Regions from separate parts of the Homo sapiens genome. Here region 1 is linked to region 2. Evidence: promoter capture Hi-C in 16 types of primary human blood cells and fetal thymus (Javierre and others, 2016). All regions are on one chromosome and are shown on one strand. Each heading gives the region's core, a stretch centred on a gene start or on the middle of the fragment in contact. The rest is flanking DNA. Distances are from core to core; before and after follow the strand shown. Region 1 has its middle 22 kb from the start of LINC02104. Region 2 holds the start of EGFLAM-AS5 (EGFLAM antisense RNA 5).

What was found. The method cuts DNA at HindIII sites, captures the fragments that hold promoters and counts their contacts. A CHiCAGO score of 5 or more calls a contact.
Region 1: a fragment that was not itself captured here is called in contact with the fragment with the promoter of EGFLAM-AS5 in region 2 in 1 of 17 cell types (naive CD4 T cells); the score reaches 6.0 in naive CD4 T cells.

What each region holds. Positions count from the first base shown.
Region 1 is chr5:39,538,712-39,545,724 of GRCh38, reverse strand. No RefSeq gene overlaps it. Among named protein-coding and RNA genes, the nearest start is that of LINC02104, 22 kb to the right of the region's middle. The HindIII fragment of the contact is 947 bases long and covers 2,136-3,082 here.
Region 2 is chr5:38,466,226-38,473,301 of GRCh38, reverse strand. It overlaps EGFLAM-AS5 (EGFLAM antisense RNA 5), which reads left to right and starts at 4,936. Exons shown (of 2, transcript NR_199676.1): 1 at 4,936-5,063. RefSeq lists enhancers at 3,598-4,469, 5,837-7,036. The HindIII fragment of the contact is 4,194 bases long and covers 1,459-5,652 here.

The DNA of each region.
Region 1 (7,013 bases), core at 1,360-3,859, 1.1 Mb before region 2:
GGATCCAGCAATAAATCAGTAATGGAAGGTTTGCATTGATAGTAGTCTGGGGTTGAAATTGTTCTTTCTTTGCAGACGTTCAATGAATTTCAATAATTTTACATAAACATCTCATTTATTAAGCAGTATTAACTTAATCAGAAATAAGAAGGCTTTGTATTTCTAAATCATTCTTTTCCAATTATTTTATACCAACACTTCATTCTCCTCTGGCATCTAAGGTAGCTCCATAGTTTCCAGTTGCTTTCTGATATTAAGGCTTAGTCCAATTTAAAACATCAAACATTAGTTTATTCTCCCCTTCTTTCCTCTTCCACTTTACCCAGTGCAAGTAGGAACGGGCACCCTCTCTAATTAGGAGTCTGCCTCAGGTACACCATCACCTTGCATTCCCCTTGTTGTATTCCTCTTCATGGTATCGAGCTGAGAGGTAGAACAGGGAAAGGAAAGAGTGTAATGCTAGCAGGCTGCTATCATAACCTTTCCCTCTTGGTTCCTGCTGTTTTTCTGGCCAGCACAGCCTAGCTGTTGATATCATCTGCAAGGCAGGCCTTCAAATTCTAGCTCTGGGGAATAAAGGTATGAGTTTTTGGAGCTTCAGTGATTTTAAGCCAACTTTTTCAAGCCCCTGAGCTCTCACTGCTGGCCATATAGTGCATGGCCTCGTGTTGCCGGGAATCTGTCTTGGAAAGGAGGTTGAACAAGCCCAGCTACATTCAAAGTAGCATCCACTTGAACCTCAGGCATCACCTGTCTTGGCTCTGAAACTGGGTGAATCCACACTACCCCTACATCTCTTCTCTCTCCAAGACTGTTCTCCCCTGCTCCTATGATGAAGAGGTAAATCCACAAGTCCTTTTCCTCAGCAGATGTCCAATTAGGTAACTAAATTATATGACAGCCTTTGTAAATGAGTCTCTTAGAGCCTCTCAGGAGGTTTTAGGAAGAAAGACCAGGTACTCTAATTTCCCTTCCCTCCCTTGGGGAAGGCAGGGAATTTCCTCTTATCTCAAACGCACCGCATTCTAATGACCCTTGGATCTGCTCCTCTCTGTCTTGTTCCCAGTCTTATTATATAGAAGACGGAGGCTGGCAGCAGTTTGCTGCATCCATCACCTCTTAAGAAGCTTTGGCTCTGACTCTGGTGACTGTCAGTTCAGATATTAAATACTTTCCTGTCCTCAGCCTTGGTCCTAATTACCAACCTCAGAAGTCCCACTAAGAGCTTCTTACATGTGGAAGGTAAACAAAGTTCCTTGGAAGAAAAAAAAAAAAATACAGATAACATACGGATATTTAGAATAGGTATTTGGCCTCAGTTGGGCCGCTGTTAAGATTTTTTCATCATCATCCATTAATTCAACATATTTAGCAAATAAGAACTAAATGCCTACCACAAGTTGAACAAAATGATAGACTCTTATAATTCAGAGAAGAAGAAAATGTATTCCCTGCTCTCTAAATGCCATTTCCTACTGTATAGTATTTAAAATCCAGGACTGTGGATGCCAGTGTGAAGGTAGGGGCTGAGGGCAGTCAGGGCAGAGGGAGAACATACAAAGCTGGAGAAGGCAAGGTAGACTTAAAGAAGAGATGGCATTTGAAAGGGCTCTTAAAAAATGAATGGCATCGATCATCGGGCAGGAAAAAAAAATAGAGGAAATAATATCAAGTAGAGATAATAATGGCATGAGCAAAGACAAAAAGATACAAAGATTGTGAGGCAGTTAATGCCTATGCCTCTGTCAGCGGGGTGGTGAGAATATAGTGAGGGCTGGGCCTCACCAAATCAATTGATTCAAATTCCAAGCTCCTTAACTGGTAAGGAGTGAAAATTCCAATTGAAAATGGGAAATTCCAAACCGGTTAAGGAGTTTGGAATTTTTCTGTATATAAAATGGAGAATTGTTAAAGGTTTTAAAGTGAAATAATGATGCATGGAATACCATTTTAACAGTAAGTCTCAATATCAATATGAAATAGATGAGCAACTAGGGAGTTGGGAGACGACATGATCTGGAGAGCTGGTGAGTGCATGAACTCAGTATATAACAATGAGGAAGGAAGAGAAGGAACAGAGATGAGAAATCTTTAATAGTAGAATTAAATTGAGAATGACTAAGGGATTTTAAGCTTTGGTGTCTGGACGTGTAAGATATGCAGATATTCTTGCTGAGATAGGAAACACAGGAAGAACTGGCTGAGAAGAAGAGAATGAGTTCATTTGGAGATGCAATACTTTAAGGTGATGAAGAACATCTAGGAGGAGCTTCCCAGGAGTCATTTGGGCCTGGAGTTCAAAGCAGACTGGCTAAATGAGGGAACAATCAGTGAATAGAGGAGGCTTGAAGCTAGGTGAGTGCACGAGAGAATGTCCAGTTAGAGTATGTAAAGGGAGCAGGGAGCTTGGGACAGAGCACTTAAAGAACTGAAAAAGGATGGAGAGGAGGTAGTGAAGAAGCTGGAGATAAAGATATCAAGAGAAAAAAATCAGGATGGACCAGTGTCTCAAAAGCCAAGGAAAGAGGAAATGTCCAGCCCGACTGAAGCAGTTCCAGTGTGAAGTGTTAGAGAAAAGCCACATAGAATAAAAACTGAAAAAAAAAAAACTCATAAGATAAAGAAATTGGGAAGTATTTGGGTGATGCTGGATTTAACTAGACCATGCTTCTCTTGTGTTTAGATATTTGAAATGTATGTTTTAAAATAGACTTTTTGGAGAACTCTTAGCTGTCTTTTGTGTCGGAAATCTGTGTAAATGCTGATTTTTCCAAAGAACATGAAATGTGCTTATATCCTTACATTTTTCTTTAGGATAAACAAATTTTGAGCTAATAAGCAAAAAGGAAGAGACATGCACTTAAAAAAAAGCATTTACTGTACATGAAAAGGGCCATTACTAAAACAGTTGGAAGTGATAACAGCAATTTTTCTCTGTAGGAAAGGAAATAACTTAGATTCAGGAAAAGGAGCTTGCTGACAAGGCAGTCAGTCATATGTCTCCCCAAAGGAAGTTAAGAGATTGGTTTTTTAAGGTCACAGTTCAATGGAAAGTGAAGTTGATGTTCACTTGAATAAAGCTTTCTTCACTTATGCTGAGTGGATTATCAAAATAACTAACAGAAACAATAGAATGAGATGGTAATACCTCCCTCAGTCCTCCGAGCTTTTCAATGTCAAGTCAGATTATTTGCTGAAAGAGCAAGCATCTTGAAATATGATGAGAAAGTTCATATAGGATTTTTTTTTTTGCTCAACATCTTAGTCCCATATAGCTACTTAATTGTATATTTTCTTGAATAAATACATCAAGAATAAAAGATTTTCAAAAATATGTCATTCTCCTTTTGTGAAGAACTAGATCAGTGGCTCACCATATAAATGTACAGTATTAGTTCTTATATTCATAGAAAATACATTATCAAATAAAAAACGATTCTTTTATATGTTAATTCTAATAAAAAACTACTTCAGAATATGTATGGACTCAAAGATAACTCAGGAGAAAGGAGATAAGATTAATAAAGTGCTTGCTGTACTTCAGGCATATGCTGAGAATCGTGGTGATATTAATGACATAGTCTATGAGTCATGCCCAGTGACCAAGGGCTCATGTGTCCTCTCAACATTTGAAGCAGTCTTCGAAGCTACCCAAAGCCCCACTGGATGTTGATCTCATCAGAATATGGTTATCAATGATCTTTGACCCGTTGTCATCCTGAATCAAGGATAATTTCGATCTTAGAATAAATGGAGGTAAAAAGAAGTAAAAGACTTTTATCTTGAGCCCCTCACTATAGACTGGTTTCTCTCTCTTTCAAGGGCCTATCTCTCCCCTCTTTTGTTGAAAGCAGGCCTGCTCAACTATACTCAAAGCATAGGAAGCTACTTAGGTCATTTGCATATTTTTAGTATTTTATATTCCTTTGCAACCTTTGTAACTTTTACTTTCTACCCAACGTGAGAATCCCTCCTACACAGTAAGGCATTCAGGTTAAATATCTAGAGCCGAACATTACCCAGACTCAAGTTCTAATTCCTGCACTGTCATTTACAAGCTGCATACTGAGCCAAGTTGCTTGACCATTTCAAGTAAAACCGGGATGACTAAAATGCCTCTATTTGTTAGAACATTATAAAGACTAAATGTGATACTATATGTTATATACTTGGTATAGTGCTAGGAACTTAAATAGTCGTAGGGAGAAAAATTACTTGGCTAGTTTCAGTTACTCATTGTCTTCAATAACAGTCTATCCCATTTTTAAAATTTCAAAACGTCATTCAGTCTTTCCTTTTATTAAGCCAAGTCTATCTTGTTCTCCACTTTGCCCACTAATCTAAATTCTGTCCTCTGGAACACCACAAAATAAATCCAATCTCTCACATTTTTCTGTTCCATTTAGTCTGAACTATCCGCTCTTGGAAAACAAAAATGAACACGACATAGTTTCATTCTGAAATAACCTTAGACGATAGAAGAGAAAACATATGTATACACATATGTATTTGCACATGACATATATTTAGTGTTTAAGGGTGCAAAGGTTTAAGTTGTATATTCAATTATTACATAAATGGAGTACGAGTATTTCAAAGTGCAAGAATAAATGGTTAAATTAGCCAGGCGTGGTGGTGGGCGCCTGTAGTCCCAGCTACTCGGGAGGCTGAGGCAGGAGAATGGCGTGAACCCGGGAAGTGGAGCTTGCAGTGAGCCGAGATCACGCCACTGCACTCCAGCCTGGGTGACAGAGTGAGACTCCGTCTCAAAATAAAAAAAAAAAGAAAGAATAAATGGTTATTGGAACACAAAGGAAAATGTGAAGTCTAACTGTGATTGAGTGGAGGAGAAACTATACTATGCCCTTAAGGATGGGTAAGATGAAAGGGCCTCCTGGAGGAAACAGCATGTACAAAATAACCCAGGCATATTCAGAAAACCAAGGGCTTTGCAGTTTTACTAAAGCAAGCTTTCCAAATTGTGAACTGTAGGCGTAAATCTTTAGAGTTTCAAGGGATATGTTCGTCTATATATGCACCAGACATTGGGTATGGTCTGAATCGCAATAACAAAATGCCTATGGCATGACTTTTCTTAAATGTAATTTAATGCTTGTTAGTATTGATAATAAAGTCAGGCTGGGCACAGTGGCTCATGCCTGTAATCCCAGCACTTTGGGAGGCCGAAGCAGGTGGATCACCTGAGGTCAAGTGTTTGAGACCAGCCTGACCAACATGGTGAAACCCCGTCTCTACTAAAAATACGAATATATATCTGTATATATGGAACACCATGCCCAGCTCTCTCTCTCTCTCTCTCTCTCTCTATATATATATATATATGTATATGTGTATATATATATATATATCTGAGCTATATATCTATACATTGATAGCTGTACAGCAATCAATGAGATAGGAGACATTTAGAATGTACTGGTGTTTCTGAAGAAGAACACAGAAGAAACTTTCAAATAAAAGGGAACTATCGATTGTGTGCAATGATAAAGAGAATTTATGGCTGGGCACGGTGCCTGTAATCCCAGCACTTTGGGAAGCCTAGACACGAGGATCACTTGAGCCCAGTTTGAAACCAGCCTGGGCAACAAAGTGAGACCCCTGTCTCTACAAAAACTCAAAAAATTAGCCAGACGTGATGTCATGCACCTGTGGTCCCAGCTATATTGGAGGCTGAAGCAAGGGGATAGCTTGAACCCAGGAGGTCGAGCTGGGCATAGTGGCAGGCCCTTGTAATCCCAGCTACTCAGGAGGCTGAGGCAGGAGAATCGCTTGAACCCAGGAGGCAGAGGTTGCATTGAGCCAAGATCGCACCACTGCACTACAGCCTGGGCAACAAGAGCAAAACTCCATCTCAAAAAAAAAAAAAAAAAAAAAAAAGTCATAATTCTGTGTTTTCTTCATCAGTGAGTACTCAGAGTACAACCACTAACATAGATCGTCCTTCAGAGTTATTAGCATTAAAAAGGGATCTACTCAAGCGTTTGGGAGGTATCAGGTCAGAGTACAGAGGGCTAAGCAGGAGTGGGCCATTCCTTCCCCTTGGCATAGCTCCCTTCCCCTCTTATCTATTCAAGGACATTGCTCTGGCCATTTGCCCCTGTTTTAAGTTTTTCCTTACCACTACAGTTTTCTCATTATCATCCAACTACGTTGTGTTTCTTTCAGTGTGGAAAACAATTCATCTCAACATTGCTTCCATCTCCAATCAGCTGGTTTTTACTGAAAGAGAAAAAAAAAAGCCCTAGGAAAAACAAATGTGTGTATGCACAGTTTCTAATTTCTTTCTAGTATTTTCTCTGTGAGCTTTGCCTTCAAAACACATCTACTATCTGAATTCTTATCTCCATAGTTGCAGTTACCACCCTAGTCCAAGCAACTCTTATGTCGATTTTGGATCCCAGTAGCCTCCAGACTGGTCTGTCTGCTTTCATCTCCCCTTGCCCCATACTTTTTTCTCAACAGTGTATCTGGAGTGATCCTGTGAAAACATAAGTCACAGCATGTCATTCCTCTACTCCAAATCTCCTTAAGTTACCCATCTCATTCAGAGTGAAATCCTAGTCCATACAATCATTTTTCAAGACCTGCACTCTCTCCTCAAAGTCCTATCTGATGCCATCTCTTAAATCTGTCCTCTCTTCTCACTCTGTTTCAGCCATACAAGCTGTCTTTCCATGCATCAAGCTTGCCAGGTGACTCCATTCAGCTCAAATGATGATGTGACATATGCCTAATTACCTAGTAGCAAGCTTTCATTTTTTCGTATGATTGTATTGCTTGATGTACATGAAAAATTAGCGTGATCTCTAGAGTTGGTTAACAGTGGAAAATTGACTTTGTCATTTGAAAACACTGTCTAGAAACTCCATAAATAAAACACAATTATTTTTCTTTTCAAAGTATTCCAAATGACTTACTATATTTTTTTTTATCATGTGACCCCTTTTCAGCTTTCGCCCTACTTAAATTCTCTCTTTTTTCTGAGACAGTGT
Region 2 (7,076 bases), core at 3,687-6,186:
TCCTAAATTGCCCAATTACCAGTGCAGGCAACATGACACCTTCAGAATGGAACCTAGACTCTAATTTCCTCAATTACCATTGTCGCTCCTTTCCTTTCCTGTGTTGGCTGAGGCTGGGTTCACACCTTTTCCGAGTCAGCCGCTGCCTTGCGGGAGGCTTCACAGGCCTGGCTCCCATCCCAGCTTCACAACTCACTATCAGGATAAGCTTTGGAGAGTTATTCAGCCTCTCCCCGTTTCCTCGTCTCTGAAACGTGGCTCTTCATGCCCACCTTTGCAGGACTGGGGAGGATTAGACAGAGTACATCATGTTCCCAGCAGTGGATGTTTGTTACCCATGCCTCTTCAGAAACTACAGGAACACCTAAGGCCTTAAAGGTATAAATGCCTCCGCACTTGTTTAGCTGCTCCTTAGGTCATCTCTCCCATTTACACAGAGAGAAGCTGCACAGCACAGGACCTGCAGGGGAGCCATGGCATCTGTCCCCACAAAGTGAACACAAGGGCTTCACTTAGATGACTTCTTCCATCTGCAGGGCCCAGTTTAGGCCTTGCTGGCTCAGAGAAGCCTTTTCCAGCATCGCCAGGCCCTCAGTCCTGTGCCTTCCCAGGCCTGTGTGTCCCCACGGCACCAAGCACGATCCTAACGCTTGATTTGGGAATGGGAATTGAACAATGTCTCGGGCTCTTACATCCATGAAGCTTAGTGCAGGATCTGCCACATCTCAGGTGCTTGATTAATATTCTTTAAATGCGCCTTGAGAAAAACGTGGTTTAATGTGTTTCCCTGGTTATTAGAAATATGTTATTTTACAGAGGGTGATCCCTTGCGGGATAGTCTCAGACTGTGCAAGACAAGGGAACCCTGGTTAAGGACAAGGATGGGAGGCTCCCTGTAGTAGCTCAAAGCAGCTCCTTCCCCAGATTTGGGCCATCTTGCCTTGTAGTAAGTAGATGCTTAAGATGTGTTGAATGCAATTACCTTATTCTCCCTAGACAGAAATTTACTCTTACCTTCTTACCTCTTTGACAACAGCAGATGGGAGATAAATGGCCTTTATCCGAAGTGACAACAGGTTAGAGTCCTTCTACACATTGTCTGTCACCTCCACCCTCTGCCATCTCCTCCCCAATTTGAACCTTGTTTTCATTTTCTGTGGGTTAGGTTCTCCATATCCTTCCAACTTGTATGGACAACTTGCATGACCAAGTGATCCATTCTGGCCCCCGTCCCTCTTCCCCAAACTGCATATCTGCTTCTCTGGAAGATAGTCTTGGCTTTGATATTTCAGGCATCTAGTTTGTGGGCAGGTAAGCCCTGGCATGTTCCTCAGGCCACACCACTGTAGTCTCCTATTCCACCCGGAAATAACACGTATCTCCTTACACACAAAACTTTCTTCCCTCAAGCAAGACCTCCTCAAGCAGCTGGGCCCATGGTCCAGGCTCCTCCAAGCTTATGGCCTTGCCATCAGGGGAGTCCTCACAGTGATCTGGCGAGCACTCTGGCCTGGCTTGTCATGTGCTCATTCCTGGTTCAGTCCTGTGGCTGGACATAGGTTCTATTCAAAGGACATTTTCACAAGAGTTGGAGAAAGATGAGTCCCTCCAAAAGAGGTGATATCCTGAGTAGACAGAACAAAAAATACTCACTGAAGAAAAACTAGAAAATCAATGGAAAAGAAAAAGAAATCACACAATCTTTTTTTTTTTTTTCCAAGACAGAGTCTCGCTGTGTCACCCAGGCTGGGGTGCAGTGGTGTGATCTCGGCTCACTGCAACCTCCGCCTCCCGGAGTTCAAGCGATTCTCCTGCCTTGGCCTCCCCAGTAGCTGGGACTACAGACTGATGCCACCAAACCCGGCTAATTTTTTGTATTTTTAGTAGAGACGGGGTGTCACCATGTTGGCCAGGCTGGTCTCGAACTCCTGACCTCGTGATCTGCCTGCCTCAGCGTCCCAAAGTGCTGGAATTACAGGGGTGAGCCACCATGCTGGGCCCACGCAATCTTTTTATGCAGCATTAGGTCTTTTCAACATTTTACTTTTTATCCTTTCGGAAATATTTTCCTATGTGAATATGTGTGTGTATATATGTACATGTCTATTCATATATATGTATATGTGTGCATATATAAAAGAATTGTAGATTCTGTTTTGGAACTTGAATTTTTATTTCACATATTTTGAAAATCTTTTCATATATGGTACTCTTTCATGGATATATGAAATCCCAATGTATGGATGAACTATTCTGTATTCTGGACATTTTTCTATATTCATACTTTTCATTAAATAATGGATAACTTTGAAAGTCAAGCAAAAGTGTTTGGCATTAGTTTGACATCTGAATTTCATACTAAAAGCCATTGGCACCTTATACACAAAAACACCCAAACCAACTTTTCTGTGTCATAAAATACTGTCTTTTATAAGTAACTGGCTACCAAAGATGCTGATGCAGAGTTCCATGGATTCCCTGCTATTTCCTCTAAGTTGTGGGCTGCTTGGGGTCATGCTGAGTGGCCACTGGAAAGGGCAGCTGCCTGACAATTTCCTCAATCCCCCTGGGCACCCACACCATCAACTGTACCCCAGCCTAGGTCCTTAGTCATGGCAAAGGGTCCCTGGACCCCAGGAACACAGGATTTTCAGGAACTATAAATAGGAATTTTTAAGTACGGTTATGCTCTCTGAGAACAGAACTCCCCTTATCTTATGAGTGTTTGACTCATTGTTTAGGGACACAGCTGACCGTGGCATAGCCTTTAGTTGGGATGGCACAGGACAGAGGGTGCATTTTAGGAAAATGAACTTGGTTTTTGGGGAGGTATCATCTGGAGGTGGGAGAGACTGAAAGTTAGAGTTGATCAGGGTTGTGGTAGGCAGGACTCTACGAAGGCCCCCGAGATGCTTGCATGGAACTGTGGAAATGGTGTGTTGTCACTCCCATAATTAGGCTACTTATCAGTTGACTTGGAGTTAATAGGCGATGATCCTGGGTGGGCGACCTATTGAGGAGACCTCTTATGAGAGGGACTGGGCCCTGCCTAAAGAAAGTCTCCCCTGGCTTTGAAGAAACAAAGAGCAAGTGAGCCTCAGGTGAGACCACAGCCCAGGCGACACCTTGACAGGGGGAGCTGAGTCCTCTCTATCCTTTATATCCTCACTGGCACTTTGGCCAGGGGCTGGTTTGTGAATAGCTCGTCCTCAGTGAGTGTCAATGAAATGTCAACCGACCTTGTGTGGGCGAGTGCCTGGAGGGGGCAACTACAGTAATCCTTGCGAGGGCCCGCAGGCCATCCGCTCCTCACCCTCCATTCCCCACCCCCAAAGCCTCCCAACCCACTCCCAAGGGCTCCCAGCTTCCAGGCCAGAGGCAGTCACATGGATAAGGCCCCCAGCCTTGGGCACATCCTCTTACCTCTCTAGCCCCGTGTGGAGCTGGAACAGAGATCGCCCAGGCTTCTTTCATTTCTGAGGTGGTGTGAATGTGACCTGGACAAGCAATCGGCTTGTGTTCCACTTTCCACTGTATTAGACAGGGCCCCCCATTTCATTCTGAACCCCCACAGTTGCTCTCTGAACCCCACGTTCAGTGAGAACATGGAATGCTACCGGCAGGGCCGGAAGTCACCACGCACTGAGCCTTGCGACCCCTGCGGCCCCATACCCCTCTCCTCCCACAGCTCTCTCTGCCTCATAGTCCATTTTCTCTGCCTCCGCTTTCTTTTGGCCAATTTCCTAACAGGGCTTTCCTTAGCTAAGCCCCTGGCCTGGTGCCTCTTACTTTTGTTATTAAGTGAGTATAAACGGCAAATTTCTTGAGCCTCCCTGGCCTTCCTTCGAAGAGACATTCCAACTCAAGTCCTCTCCTAGCCAAGTCAGAACTGCAGCCCCTTGGCAGCAGGCTGTTCGGGGAGGTCATAGCCCCGGGCTGGGCCCTGGCTTGTAGGTGAGCAGCTGGGACATCGGGGGAGGCCATGCCACATGCTGGGAAATTTCTATGCCTCTGGACACCATTTGCATCTTGAGCAAAACTGAAAGACAAGATGGATAAATAGAAAAGAAGAGACATCCTCCCAGGGGCTGAGACATAATGTTCTCTCTCCCGTCTTTCCAGGAAATGGCAAGTGCTCCTGGGAGCTACGAACTTTCTAGGACAAAGATGCCTCAGCAAGAGCAAGCGGGAAGAAGAGGAGCGGCAGGGGAGGCCTTTCCCAGCTGCCTTCCCTGTTCTTTCAGCTCGTGGCTTGGCTGGGGCGAGGCAGGGGCCCAGGGGAACACGCTGCTGGGCAGAAATAGCTTGCAACCACTCCCCAGGGTTATGGAGGTTATTTGTGGAGATGAAAGCAAAGGAGGGAAGGGAAAAGAATTTAACCTACACCCAGTTGCCCGTAGAGGGGCCTGAATCCCACCCTGCTGGACTAGCTCTTTAGTTTCTGCTTTCAGATTTGCTCAACCCAGAGTCCCTGCAACAGAAGGCCTTTGAAAGAAGGCAGATTCAGGGCTGTGATGAGAAACTGGCATGCGTTGGCAAGCAGACTCTTGGGACATGGCCTTTGTCCGAATCTCCCTCACTTACACGACTATACTGCAGACGACAGCTAACCCAAGGGAGCCTCAGAATGTCCCTCAACAATGCGGGTGTCCCTGGGCAGACTGCACCTGACCAGAGGTCAGGGTGAGGGCAGAAAAGCTCCACGGGACAGCATCGTGGCTGCGTCCTCGTGATGGGACCATGGGCAAGTCACCCAGTCTTTGTGGCCAGTGTCTGTCTTCCTAAGTCAAATAGGCCATGCCCATCTGCTCCAGCCATCATAGGAGGAGGACTGTTATGAAGATCAAATATGTGAACATTCTTTGACTGTGAGGTTGCGGTGCGGTTACTCACAGGGCCTAGCCCAGAAGCCAGCTGATGCTGTTGCATTGGATTAGTCATTTTGCTGGCCCGAACATAGCCACCTGTAAGCTGGAACTTCCTTACGGCAGCCTGTCACTTCCACGGGACCCACCAGCTTAAATGCCGGCAGCCCTGGGACTTCTGGCCTCACAATGGTTGAGGTAGGGCTGCTTACATTTCCCTTCTCTGTTTAGCGTGTGCCGGATAAGTCCCTAGTTCGGATACCGTCGGACGACCCACATCTCCATGTTGACAAATAACGTGGGAGTGGGCTAAAGCTGTACGACCCCTGATTTCAGATTCTAATTTTGATTCCATGCTGGCAGCTCTCTCCCCACTGCAGGGAGAAAGTGCTGGAGAACGTCGTTCCCGCCTTTGATAAGCTAATCTTACCCCCTTCTCAGCTAAGGGTCTGGGCGGTGGTGGGCACGCCCGGACTGACCCCCAGCTCCAAGGGCAACTACTATGCGTTCCTGGACTGGGCAGGAGCTGGAAGAGGCAGGGAGGAGGTGGGAAGCGGCTCATGCCTTGTCCAGGCTCCTCTCCTAAAGTATTGTCTTTCCGCTTGGAGCTGGAATTCTCTGCCTTTATTTTCTCGGAGCTGGGCCTCTGCAGGCTGCCCCTCGGTCATTCCCTCCCAGGAAGAACGGCCTTCTGGGGTGGGGGTTGCTGTCGGAGCTCAGAGAGGCTGGGGGCCCCCCTACTGCCTATTCTTCCTCCTTTGGGAACTCACAGTGCTAAAAACAAGCTTTCTGAGAACCATATTTTTCTGGGTTAAAGGTGAAAAATGCAGCGTTTCCTCCAAGTGGAAAGCCCTGGGCCTGCCAGCTCCAACTCCGGGCGCTTTTCCGAGCTCCTTCCTCCCACGCAGGGAGGGGGTAGCAGCTCCTGCAGGGCCAGGGGAGGAGGTGGGCAGGGAGGAAGGAGAGGGGGCAGCAGCAGGAAAGCGCCAGTGCCCGTGCCAGCAGGGCAGTCTGTGTGTGGACACCAGCCGGCCTGTTTGTGTTGGAGGGCCGGGAGAAGGGAGCAGGACTGGGTCAGGAAATGAAAGACAAATACCAGGGTGGGAGAGTGGCACGGCCTTCAGAGCGGCGGGCAGGCCGGGGCAGCTGCCTGGGCAGCCGCAGAAGGGGGACACAGAAGACCCCCACAGACCTTCCTGAGAGAAATCCTGAGGTGGGGCCTCCAGGAACATGCAGGGTTATGGGAGGCCATCTTAATAGGAAAAGCAAGGACATCCTCACCCCACACCCGGTCACCCTTGCTTCGAACATGTGGGAGGTTCCGGGGAATTTCCTCAGACCCTGATTGTGGGAGAAAAGCTTTTCAGGATCCCGTGCCCCACTCCATCCTTCCTCCCTAGGACAGGGACTGCTGTTAGCCTCTGAGCTCCCTGGCGACACCCCAAACCTTTCTCTTCAGCCAAGAGCCTGGCCAGCCTTCAACATGCTCTCCCCACAGCGGCTACCCAAAAGCCAGGCACAGATCCCATCTTCCAGCCGGTCCAGTCCCTCCTCCTCAGAACAGCAACGGGGCCAGCTGCCAAGTGTCAGGGAGCATGTGGAAGGAGGGCAAGGGGAAGAGAGGGCACCGCATTGCGATGGGGGAGGGCGGGTGCTGCTCGCATCAGGCCTGGCCTGGCTGGGCACTGAGAACATCATGGACCTCGCCTCCAGCCCCAAGGGTTAAAGAAGGTCGGAGAAGACCTATGGCCAGGGGGTCACGGCCTCCCTACTGCACCCTGCTGTGAATGACGTAGGACTTGCTGGGGTAGACCGATTGCATCAGCAGTGACGCTTTTCCACTGCTCCTGAGTCCATGCCCTCCACCGGGCAGCTTGGTAGTTCTCTCATGCTGGAGAAGAGCCCATATGTCACGTGGGGGCCGGCCCGTTTCTTCCTCTCTTGAATCCACAGATGACTGGGGTGTGGCAGTGCCAAGCCGAGGCTGTGAAAGGCCTTCCACCTTTACTCTCGTGCTCGTGCCCTCCCCCATTGTTAGGAGAAGGGCATGCTCAGGCCAGCCCATTAGCCCAGGAGGAGGACAAGAAACACACGGAGCAGACACAAGCCACCTCACCAACCCAGCCAAGGCTGTCCTGAATTAGCAACCCTGACACGTGTGAGCAAGTCCAACGGACACCGGAAGATCCACCTAGTCAAGCCCAACCAAGA